Linked DNA regions of Homo sapiens: region 1 is linked to region 2. The links are contacts of gene promoters, found by promoter capture Hi-C in blood cells and fetal thymus (Javierre and others, 2016). All regions are on one chromosome and are shown on one strand. Each heading gives the region's core, a stretch centred on a gene start or on the middle of the fragment in contact. The rest is flanking DNA. Distances are from core to core; before and after follow the strand shown. Region 1 overlaps LINC01754 (long intergenic non-protein coding RNA 1754). Region 2 holds the start of NCOA3 (nuclear receptor coactivator 3).

Evidence for each region. Contacts are between HindIII fragments. The CHiCAGO score rates a contact against its expected background, and 5 or more counts as called.
Region 1: a contact is called between a fragment that was not itself captured here and the fragment with the promoter of NCOA3 in region 2, in 7 of 17 cell types (naive B cells, total B cells, activated CD4 T cells and 4 more). The highest score is 20.7, in naive B cells.

Annotation. Positions count from the first base shown.
Region 1 is chr20:47,380,943-47,386,741 of GRCh38, reverse strand. LINC01754 (long intergenic non-protein coding RNA 1754) reads left to right here. Exons shown (of 3, transcript NR_146496.1): 3 at 1,723-3,976. Among named protein-coding and RNA genes, the nearest start is that of ZMYND8, 27 kb to the right of the region's middle. RefSeq lists an enhancer at 2,495-3,347. The HindIII fragment of the contact is 1,048 bases long and covers 1,812-2,859 here.
Region 2 is chr20:47,499,381-47,505,251 of GRCh38, reverse strand. It overlaps NCOA3 (nuclear receptor coactivator 3), which reads right to left and starts at 3,365. Exons shown (of 23, transcript NM_181659.3): 1 at 3,233-3,365. RefSeq lists a silencer at 3,006-3,125 and a cis regulatory region at 4,377-4,449. The HindIII fragment of the contact is 2,001 bases long and covers 2,034-4,034 here.

The DNA.
Region 1 (5,799 bases), core at 1,086-3,585, 120 kb after region 2:
CCCGGCCCAGATTTTGCCTGGTTTCAGTCAGCCAAGACCACACTTCTGCACTCCAGCCTGGGCGACAGAGCAAGACTGTCTCAAAAAAAAAAAAACACTGCGTTTATTTCAGGCCAGACATGGGGGCTCACACCTGTAATCCTAGCACTTTGGGAGGCCCAGACAGGAGGATTGCTTGAGCTGGGGAGTTCAAGACCAGCCTGGGCAACATAGCAAGACCCTGTCTCTATAAACAAAAAATAAAACAAAATAAGTTGATTTAATAAAAACTGTCGAATTAATAACAGGGTAAGTGGTTCTTGGATATGAAGAGATACATCCCACTCCATCATCAACAGTCTAGTCTAGGCCAGGCGTGGTGGCTCACACTTGTAATCCTAGCACTTTGGGAGACTGAGGTGGGAGGACTGGCTGAGGTCTGGAGTACAAGACCAGCCCAGGCAACATAGCAAGACCCCATCTCTACAAAAAAAATTTTTTTAACAACTCAAGCTGGGCGCAGTGGTTCATGCCTGTAATCTTAGCACTTTGGGAGGCCAAGATAGGAGGATCCCTTGAGCCCAGGAGGTCGACACCAGCCTGGGCAACATAGAGAGACCCCATCTCTCTCTTTTTTGGGGGTGAGGGGGACGGAGTCTTGCTCTGTCACCCAGGCTGGGGTGCAGTGGTATGATCTTGGCTCACTGCGACCTTCGCTTCCTGGGTTCAAGTGATTCTCATGCCTCAGCCTCCCAAGTAGCTGGGATTACAGGCCACCATGCCCAGCTAATTTTTGTATTTTTAGTAGAGAGGGGGTTTCACCATGTTGGCCAGGCTGGTCTCCAACTCCTGACCTCTACCTCCCAAAGTGGTGGGATTACAGCATGAGCCACCACGCCCAGCACCATATTTATTTTTATTTTTTTTCTTTCTTTGAGACAGTTTCATTCTTGTCGCCCAGGCTGGAGTGCAATGGCACAATCTCGGCTTGCTGGAACCTCAGCCTCTCAGGTTCAAGCAATTCTCCTGCCTCAGCCCCCCAAGGAGCTGGGACTACAGGCGCGTGCCACCATGCCCAGCAAATTAGTAGAGATGGGGTTTCACCACGTTGGCCAGGCTGGTCTCAAACTCCTGACCTCAGGTAATACACCCCACTAGGCTTCCCAAAGTGCTGGGATTACAGGCGTGAGTCACTGTGCCTGGCCCTTATTTTTTTAATTTAAAAAAAAAAAAAGGCCGGGCGCAGTGGCTCACGCCTGTAATCCCAGCACTTTGGGGGGCCAAGGCAGGCGGATCACAAGGTCAGGAGATCGAAACCATCCTGGCTAACATGGTGAAACCCCGTCTCTACTAAAAATACAAAAAACTAGCCGGGCGTGGTGGCGGGCACCTGTAATACCAGCTACTCGGGAGGCTGAGGCAGGAGAATGGCGTGAACCCAGGAGGCGGAGCTTGCAGTGAGCCAAGATGGCGCCACTGCACTCCAGCCAGGGCAACAGAGCGGGAGACTCCGTCTCAAAAAAAAAAAAAAAAGAACTCAAACATGTTAGAGAAACACACCCACGCCCCGGGGGCTTTGCTCTTACCATTCTCTCTGCCTGGAACACTTCTTCACCAGATACCTGCTCTTTCTCCTCACTCCGGGTTTTGCTTAAGTGTCATCTCAATGACATCTCTTTATTAAGTGTCATCTATTTTCCATGTGTTCTACCTATTGATGTATTCATTCATTCACTGTTCTAGGGCAGGAGGCATCCGTGAAGGCAAAGATTCTGTCTGTTCTGCTGATTTCGGTGGTCCCAGCACCCAGAATAGTACTGCACGCAAAAGCTTATCTGTTGAATGAATAATGTGTGAACGAATGCACTAGGTTATGAATCGGGCACCGGCATTCAGGGAGCACGCCGGACTCTCATCACAACACTATAGCTTTAGTACTGAAAATTCCTCCGCCGGGCGCGCTGGCTCATACCTGTGATCCCAGCACTTTAGGAGACCAAGGTGGGTGGATCACCTGAGGTCAGGAGTTTGAGACCAGCCTGGCCAAACGTGGCGAAACCCCGTCTCCACTAAAAATACAAAAATTAGCTGGTGCACGCCTGTAATCCCAGCAACTCAGGAGGCTGAGGCAGGAGAATCACTTGAACCCGGGAGGCAGAGGTTACAGTGAGCCGAGATCACGACATTGCACTCCAGCCTTGGCGACAAAAGTGAAACACCGTCTGAAAGAAAAAAAAAAAAAAAGAAAGAAAATTCCTCAGCAGAAGTCTTTGGGAAGGTCAAAGGTGAAACTCCGAATTGTTCTCAGCTGTGCTTTAACCATTCCAGCCCCCTGAGAGCCCCAGGGCTCGGTCCGCCGCCCTTCCTTTACATTCCTGAGCTCTGAAGTCCCCACCTCCTTTCAGCACCCTGAGTTCTTTCCTAGGATGGAATGGACTGAATAATATTTTCCATGTTAGTGATGGGGTCCAAGAATGTCCATGACGCATGAGACCAGAGCTCCCAGCCCGGAGAATGGAACGCTGCTCTCTCTGGAGCCACCAGGGGGCGCCATTTCTCCACGGAGTTTCGCGAAGGCCGCGCCGCAAGAAGCTGCTCTCCCAGCAGGAGGCGAGGCTCTTTGCCTGTTGCAGGGTTGGGTATGTCGGCAGGATTTGGAAGTGCTCAAGCAGGTGGTGGGAGAGCTTGCTTTGATGCTCCCAAAGAAAGTGTTGCCCAGGTTCTCTCCTGCTTGTAATTAGACCTGTGTTCCACCCCAGACTTTGGCTGCAGCTGCGTGACCCTGGACAATTCACTGTGAATGTTGCAGCCGTGGTAACCTCATCCATAAGAACACTGGGACCCCATGGGATTGTGTGTGGACACAGTGAGATGAAAGCTTGCAGGCACCAACCATTGCTCTGAAATGGGAGCCAGTGATGGGATCAGAGGTTGTTAATTATACTAGTAATCAACTGAGCCCTGGTTCTCAAAGCCTGTTCCCTGGATCAGCAGCAGCACCTGCTAAATTCTGATGGCGTTTGATAGAAATGCAAATTCTCAGCCCCACTTCCCCCAAAGTCCTTGATTGAATTTATTAATCTGCCGGGTGTGATGGCTCACGCCTGTAATCCCAGCACTTTGGGAGGCCGAGGCGGATGGATCACCTGAGGTTAGGAGTTCAAGACTAACCTGGCTAATGTGGTGAAACCCCCGTCTCTACTAAAAATACAAAAATTAGCTGGGCGTGGTGGCACCTGTAATACAAAAATTAGCTGGGCGTGGTGGCGGGCCCCTGTAATCTCAGCTACTTAGGAGGCTGAGGCAGGAGAATCGCTTGAACCAGGGAGGCTAAAGTTGCAGTGAGCCGAGATCATGCCATTGCACTCCAGCCTAGGCAATAAGAGTGAAACTCTGTCAAAAAAAAAAAAAAAAAAAAAAAAGAGTTTCTTAATCAAAAGGCCTGAGAATTTCAAGAAATGCAGATTCTCAAATCTTTCAACTGAGAAACTTGGTGGGGGTGAGTCCCTCAATCAGTGTTTAGCAAGCTGCCCACGTGCTTCTGATGCCTGCTCAAGTCTGCTTAGAGCAGTAGGGACTTCTCCTGTAGGGGTTTGGAACACAATACCCCAAATTACAGCACTTTGGCAAACTGAGCATTTGAAGCTGAAGGAATTTGAGGAAACCATAGAAGCAGGAAGGTCACTCTCTGACCTTCTCCTGCCTTCCTCTTCTGCAGTGGGCCACTCAAGGTTTCTCTGACCTGCCTCTCCTGAAAGTAGGCCCCAAGCCCCTCATTCCAGAGGGGGTCCGGTCCTGTCCGTGGAGACCATGAAGACTAAACTCACAGGCCTTGCTAAGTTCCCACTGTGTACATCATTGGATCAAACCCTTTTGTCCTCCTGTGACACTGCTGCTTGACTGTCCATAAAAACACAGGTGCCCTGGGTCACGGTTCTTCACTTTGGAAGACTCCTGAGTCACTCAAAACTTGGGTTAAATAAATTTGTCATGCTTATCTCTTGTTAATCTGTCTTTAGGGGTGTTAGCCATGAACCTTGTGATGGGTGAGGAAAAGGTACTTTTTCTTCCCTACAGCCCTAAATCATAGTTAGTTAGGAGTGGAGCTGAAATTGAAAAAAATTAAAAAATTAGATTTACTGCCTGCAAAGCTACAACCCAGGATATGGTGTGCGTGTATATCCCATTAGTGATGGACATGCCAAAATGCCTCCCCTCCCCCTGCTTTTTTTTTTTTTTTTGAGACGGAGTCTCACTCTGTTGCCCAGGCTGTAGTGCAGTTGTGCCATCTCAGCTCACTGCAACCTCCTCCTCCCGGGTTCAAGCGATTCTGCCTCAACCTCCCAGGTAGCTGGGATTACAGGCGTTTGCCACTGTGCCGGGCCAAAATGCCTCTTTTTGTTCTAGTTTAAACTTGTAGTTTTCTAGAACAGTGGCGCTCAACCGTGGCTACACATTAGAATCAGCTGGGGCTCTTTAAAAACTATATCAACCTGGGTGCGGTGGCTCACACCTATAATCCCAGCATTTTGGGAGGCCGAGGCGGGTGGATCACTTGAGGTTGGGAGTTTGTGACCAGCCTGGCCAACATGGTGAAACCCCGTCTCTACTAAAAATGCAATAAAATTAGCCGGACATGGTGGCAGGTGCTTATAATCCTAGCTACTTGGGAAGCTGAGGGAGGAGAATTGCTTGAACCTTTGAGGCGGAGGTTGCAGTGAGCGCAGATCGCACCATTGCATTCCAGCCTGGGTGACAGAGCGAGACTACAACTCAAAGAAACAAAAAAAAAAAACAACAAAAATCAAATGCTTGGTCGTCTCCCCAGACCAATTAATCCACAATTTCTGGAAGACCCTGTGCTTTTATAAATTTTTTTTTTTTTTTTTTGAGATGGAGTCTTGCTCTGTCGCCCAGGCTGGAGTGCAGTGACATGATCTCAGCTCACTGCAACCTCCGCCTCCCAGGTTCAAGCAATTCTGCCTCAGCCTCCTGAGTAGCTGGGATTACAGGCGCAGGCAACCACACCCGGCTAATTTTTATATTTTTAGTAGAGACGGGATTTCACCATGTTGGCCAGGCTGGTCTTGAACTCCTGACCTCAAGTGATCCACCCGCCTCAGCCTCCCAAAGTGCTGGGATTACAGGCGTGAGCCACCTCACCTGGCTTTTTTTTTTTTTTCTTTTAGAGAGAGGGTCTCATTCTGTTGCCTGGGCTGGAGTGCAGTGGAGTGGCATGATCATAGCTCACTAGTAGCCTTGAACTCCTGGACTCAATTGGTCCTCCCACCTTGGCCTCCCAAAGTGCTGGGATTACAGCATGAGCTACCACTCCTGACCAGAGCAAAGTCTTTTTTTTTTTTTTTGAGACGGAGTCTCGCTCTGTCGCCCAGGCTGGAGTGCAGTGGTGCGATCTCGGCTCACAGCAACCTCTGCCTCTCAGGTTCAAGTGATTCTCCTGCCTCAGCCTCACAAGTAGCTGGGATTACAGGCGCCCACCACCACGCCCGGCTAATTTTTTTTTTTTTCCTCAAGACGGAGTCTTGCTCTGTAGCCCAGGCTGGAGTGCAATGGCTTGATCTCAGCTCACTGCAACTTCCACCTCCCAGCTTCAAAAGATCCTCCTGCCTCAGCCTCCCAATTAGCTGGGATTACAGGTGCCTGCCATCATGCCCGGCTAATTTTTTGTATTTTTAGTAGAGACAGGGTTTCACCATGTTAGCCAGGCAGGTCTCGAACTCCTGACCTCATGATCCGCCCGCCTCAGCCTCCCAAAGTGCTGGGATTACAGGCGTGAGCCACCACGCCCAGCCCCATGGA
Region 2 (5,871 bases), core at 2,116-4,615:
TTGTCTCTACTAAAAATACAAAAATAGCCGGGCGTGGTGGTGCGCACCTGTAATCCCAGCTACTTGGGAGGCTGACACAGGAGAATTGCTTGAACCCAGGAGGCAGAGGTTGCAGTGAGCCAAGATCGCGCCGCTGCACTCCAGCCTGGGCAACAGAGCAAATTTCCTTCTCAAAAAAAAAAAAAAAGAAAGAAAAGAAAAAAAAAAAACGCCCCTGCCCGCAAAAAAAAAAAAAAAAAAAAAAAAAACCAAAAACCCAAAGCCATTTATTTTAACCATCAATTTGGGATAGGACAATAGCAGAGTTTTTAAATCTTACCCTATTGTCCAAACTAAAATTTATTTTTTAATTTTCTTTTAAAGACTTTTCAATTACAGTACTCCAAGTTAAAATGAATTATTCCAGAATCATACTGCTAATGCACAAGACAGAATTTTTTTTTTTTTTGAAACAGAGTCTCATTCTGTTGCCCAGGCTGGAGTGCAGTGGTGCAATCTCGGCTCACTGCAACCTCCGCCTCCCGGGTTCAAGCCATTCTTCTGCCTCAACCTCCTGAGTAGCTGGAACTACAGGTGCTCGCCACCACGCCCGGCTAATTTTTTGTATTTTTAGTAGTGAAGGGGTTTCACCATCTTTGCCAGGCTGTTCTCAAACTCCTGACCTCGTGATCCACCAGCCTTGGCTTCCCAAAGTGCTGGGATTACAGGCCTGAGCCACTGCAGCCCGGCAGAAAGAACTGAATTCGTTAAAAAAAAAAAAAAAAAAAAAAAAAGACACACTTAGCTTTTATCTTTAATGTAATGTCCCTGCAAGAAAGCTTATTTCAAAAGACCAGTCAAGAAGACATTAGTAAGCAACCATTTTTAAACTACTTTTTATTTGCATATCGCCTAGAAAAAGGGTCTCACGTACAACAGTACTTCACTCCTTACTGAATTCTATTTTATTTGCTCGGGAGGTGCGTGGCACTTTTTAGAAATAATTTTTATACAGAGAAGGAAATGCACAGCATAATCATTTTCAAAATACAGTTAAATTATTTAATATAATCTTTAATAACCTAGCTCTAATATCACTGAATTTCCTTAGCAAATTGTTAGTGTTGGCAAGCTGTTAAAACAACCATTCTAAAATATAAAAATATAAATCTCGCTATTGATGCTTAAGTTGTACATTTTCAAAGCCTTTGTAATTAAATATCTTATGGCAGAAATATTTCCTATAACTGCTCTAGAAATATTACAGCCTCCCGCTTAGTCCACAATCCCCATCTTCTATATGCCAAAAGCTGGTATATGCCTCTTATTTCAAATGCTGATTGGACAATTAAGTCATTTCCATCTATACATAAAATGCCCCTATAATTTAGGATCACAGGCAATTTAGATTTCTGCTCATTGAAATGCAGAACCTGAAGCAACCTCTAGTGACAGGAGCTATAGTGTTCAATATCATTTTACATGTTACAAGCAGAGGATTCATTGTACATACAAACAATGAACCCTGGCAGAGTTCTTTATCCTAAAGCCCCACAGATTGTTATTTAACGGTATTAATAGATAAGGTGACATAAGCAGTAAGTTCTGAAGAGCTTTTTCCAATAGCTATCAACATTTTTTTTAAGAGAGCAAAAACAGTATTCCCACATTTTCTGTTTCTTCTGTTCATTTTATTTCCCTGCTTTTGGTATCCAACAGAAGTGGTTTCAAATGAAAATCTTAAAATAATTATTCCAAAGACCAAGGATATTCTAAAAACCAGTAACAGTCTTTGCCTCTGAGAAGGGGAAACTGTAGGGTTTGGCGTGAAAGAGAGATTCACTTTTCAATGTGTTTGTACCTTTCCAATTGGATATCATTCGGTAGAACCATATTCTAAATGAGCATACATTTAAAATATTTTCAAGAACAAACAATTCACAAACTTACAGGTTTCCATTAACATTTTCGTTTGTGCAGCATTCGCTGAAGACCTAAGATTTTTATTCCTCCAATCACCTTCTCAACAACCTGCTGCAACAAATACTGAAGCTTTTTTGCAGCCAGGGATCAGTTAGGTGGATCCGAGGCCAGGCATTTAAATCAAAGAGATGCAGCAATCTTACTCAATACTACTACCACTCTCACGCATCTCATTCAACTCCATTTAAAACCACTGCAGCAAGACAGCTGGTACTCTCCTTCCTGTTTCTTTACCGTACAGGCTTAATAACAAAAACAGGTTGGTTTTGAAGCCCTGCTCAAATATTGCAAAAAGGAAGTCTTCGCATTCGGGAGGGGGAAAAAAGTTTCGACTTCGAGAGAATCTCATAGCTTCCGTGTCATTCCATTTGGGAATCCCAGATCCTGCCAGTGAGGTAGATGCTCGCTCTCTCGGTTAACTTTTCCACCCTAGATGCCCTCAAACTGCCTAGGAAGCAACTAAGTCTCCCAACGACCCATGGCTAGTTTTGTTAAGGCAGGTACAAGACAAGCAGTTTATTTAAACCATGACGAACTGGGTCGATGTTCATAAAATGAGAGATGGGGAGAGCAAAAAAAAAAAAAAAGTAGTAATAAAGACAGCCAAACTCCTAATTTTATCAACCAACTTCCCACTTGCCATTTCCCAGCCTTCACACCAGAGGTAGTAAAACGCCTTTTTACCGAGAAAACTAAGAAGCTACCCGAGCCCAACATGAAAATTCCGCGGACAATTCGTGTTAAAATATTTTTTAAATGCCCAAGTGAGGAGGAAACACAGCAACCAAATCTCACCCGGCTGGGAGGCTGGGGTGGGGGGGGTCCCCGCGGCTTTTCCCTCCCGTGCGTCCCAGAAGCTGCTAAGGAGCCGGGGCAGCAGGAGGACGACGCGGGGAGCTTTCAAAAGGGCTGGGGGAGGCAAGAGGAAGAAAAAACTTTAGGGACAGAAGGGGAAAGTGGGCCCCTGCAGTCCCCCCGCAAACTCCTCGGGTGACCCCTCCGCGCGGGGACCCCCTCGGATCCCCAAGCGGACTGCCACCCAGCTTCGTCTCAGCTCCTACCGCCGCGGGCCGCCCCCCGGGCTGAGGGGAAGCGGCGCGGCCCCGACACCCCGAAACTACCTCAGCGCGTCCCCCGGCCGGCGCGCCCCTCAGTGCCTTGGCAGATCTGAAGCCGCTGGCTCTCGCAGCCTGGGGAACTCGCCCCTCTTCCCTCCGCCTCGCACTCCACCCCCTCGCCCGCCACCGCCTCCTCCTTTATCTCCACTCACCTCCCGCCGCCATTTTCCTCGCAGCTCAGCTTTAAATCGGAAACTCGCCGCTCAGCCCGCAGCCGCCGCCGGCCGCCACCGACTAAGCCGCAGCCGCTGCCGTCGCTGTGGAGCGGCTGAGACAGCAGCAGCTAAAGTCGCCGCACGGGGGCCACTGGGATATGTAGTCCCGAGGCCACGCCCAGCACTACCGGTCCCAGGGGGCCTTGCGCGGCCGGCCTAGGGTTCCAGCGACCCCCACCCTGGCTTCCGCGGCGGAGGGCGTGGCGACGTGGGCTCGTGCGGCCGCTTTCGCCCAGCATCGACTGGGAGCTCCCTCGGGATCCGGAGAACCGGAATGCAGTCCTAGCCCTGCCCTTAATTTTTTTCATATTTGCCTTCGTCCAGTAATACCTAACATTTGTGGAGCGTTTCTGGTATGCCAAGCACGGATCCTCAAAACAAGCATCCGGTAGGGACCATGATCATCCTCATTTTTCAGATGAGCGAACTGAGGCACAAGGTCGGAAGCCACGAGGCTGTTCCTTAGCTGCTAAAGTCACTGGGTGAAATGTTGTTGGGCAGCAGTATATTCAGGGTATATTTAGTCCCGAAGTATCATCCCACAGCGTATTTATGACTTACAATAAAGAACAGCTTGCTTTACAATGGAAAGATCTGGCAGGCACCCCCTTACCAAGTGATCGAACTTAGCACCACCAATAATGGGTCAGGACTGTTGTTATGTGTCTCCTAATATGATGCAGTGGGGAAAGCATATTGCTACCTCTGTCGTATTCTTGCCACATACACACAAAAAGCTTACTTGAAAAAATAAACGAATTCAGAATGTGGGACATTCTACACAACATCTAGCCTGGAGTCTTTTAAAATATGACAGCATGAAAGAGGTGAAAACCAAAAGCAATAGGTGAGACTTGATTGGATTCAGGATGATTTTTTTATGTAAAAAGAATTTGGGGGGCAATTTCAATGTGGACTGTATGTTAGATAATATTGAGTCAGTATTAGATGTGTTGAGTGTAAATAAAATAGAATAATCTGACCACTTACCACCTCCACGGTCAGCACCATCATTTCCCACCTGGACCACTGCAACAGCCTCCTCAGTGTTCTGCCTGCTTCCACTCTTTCCTCTTAGAGTCTATACTCAACACAGCAGCCAGAGGAATCCTGGTAAGAACCAAGTCAGTCTCTGTCCCTCCTGCAAAATTCTTGCAGTAACCTGCAAAGCCCCATACAGCCCGTCTCTTGCCCTGCCCTTCCCTCTCTAAACTCATCACCTTCTTCTCTTCCACTCACTTCTGTAACTCAGCTACAATGGACTCGGCCTCTCCAACGTGCTTAGCACACTCTGGCCTTAAAGATCGTGCACTTGCTATTTCCTCTGCCTAGAACAGTATTTTCCCAGAAAATTCAAATAACCCATTCCCTAATCTCCCCATGGTCATTGTCCAAATGTCACTTATTCAGTGAGGCTTTCCCTAACTGCTCTATTTTAACTTCCTGCCCACTCTGATCCCAGCTTTCCCTACTCCTATTCCTTTCTTCATTTATTTTCAGAGCATGAATTATCATTAAAATCATGATATATTTCTGTTTACTTATGTTATTTAAAATATCTCATTTTGGCTGGGCGCGGTGACTCACGAATGTAATCCCAGCACTTTGGGAGGCCAAGGCAGGCAGATCACCTGAGGTCGGGAGTTCAAGACCAGCCTGACCAATATGGAGAAACCCCGTCACTACTAAAAATACATAATTAGCTGGGCATGGTAGCACATGCCTGTAATCCGAGCTACTCAGGAGGCTGAGGCAGGAGAATCACTTGAACCTGGGGGCAGAGGTTGCGGTGAGCCGAGATGGCACCATTGCACTCCAACCTGGGCAACAAGAGTGAAACTCCGTCTCAAAAAAAAAAAAAGTAAAAATTAAAAAATTAAATATCTCATTTCTGGGCCGGGCACGGTGGCTCACACCTGTAATCCCAACACTTTGGGAGGCCAAGGTGGGCAGATCACCTGAGGTCAGAAGTTCCAGACCAGCCTGCCCAACATGGCGAAACCCCGTCTCTACTAAAAATACAAAAGATTAGCTGGGCATGGTGGCAGGCGCCTATAATCCTGGCTACTCGGGAGGCTGAGGCAGGAGAATCACTTGAACCCGGGAGGCAGAGGTTGCAGTGAGCCGAGATCGCGCCACTGCACTCCAGCCTGGGCCACAAGAGCGAAACTCTGTCTCAAAAAAATATATATATATATATTTCCACCAGGGCACAGTGGCTCAGGCCTGTAATCCCAACACTTTGGAAGGCCGAGAGATTGCTTGAGCCCAGGAGTTCAAGACCAGCCTTGGCAACAAAGCAGATACCCAGTCTCTACAAAAAATTTTAAAATTAGCTTGGTGTGGTGGCGCCTGCTTGTATTCCCAAGTACTCAGGAGGCTGAGGTGGGAGGATTGCCTGAGTAGGGGAGGTCAAGGCTGCAGTGAGCCATGCTTGCACCACTGCACTCCAGCCTGGGCGACAGAGTGAGACTCCATTTCAAATATATATATATATAAAATAAAAATAATAAAATAAAATACTGCGTTAGATGCTGAGAACCCAGAGATGAAATGCTCACACGTGTATGGCCTTT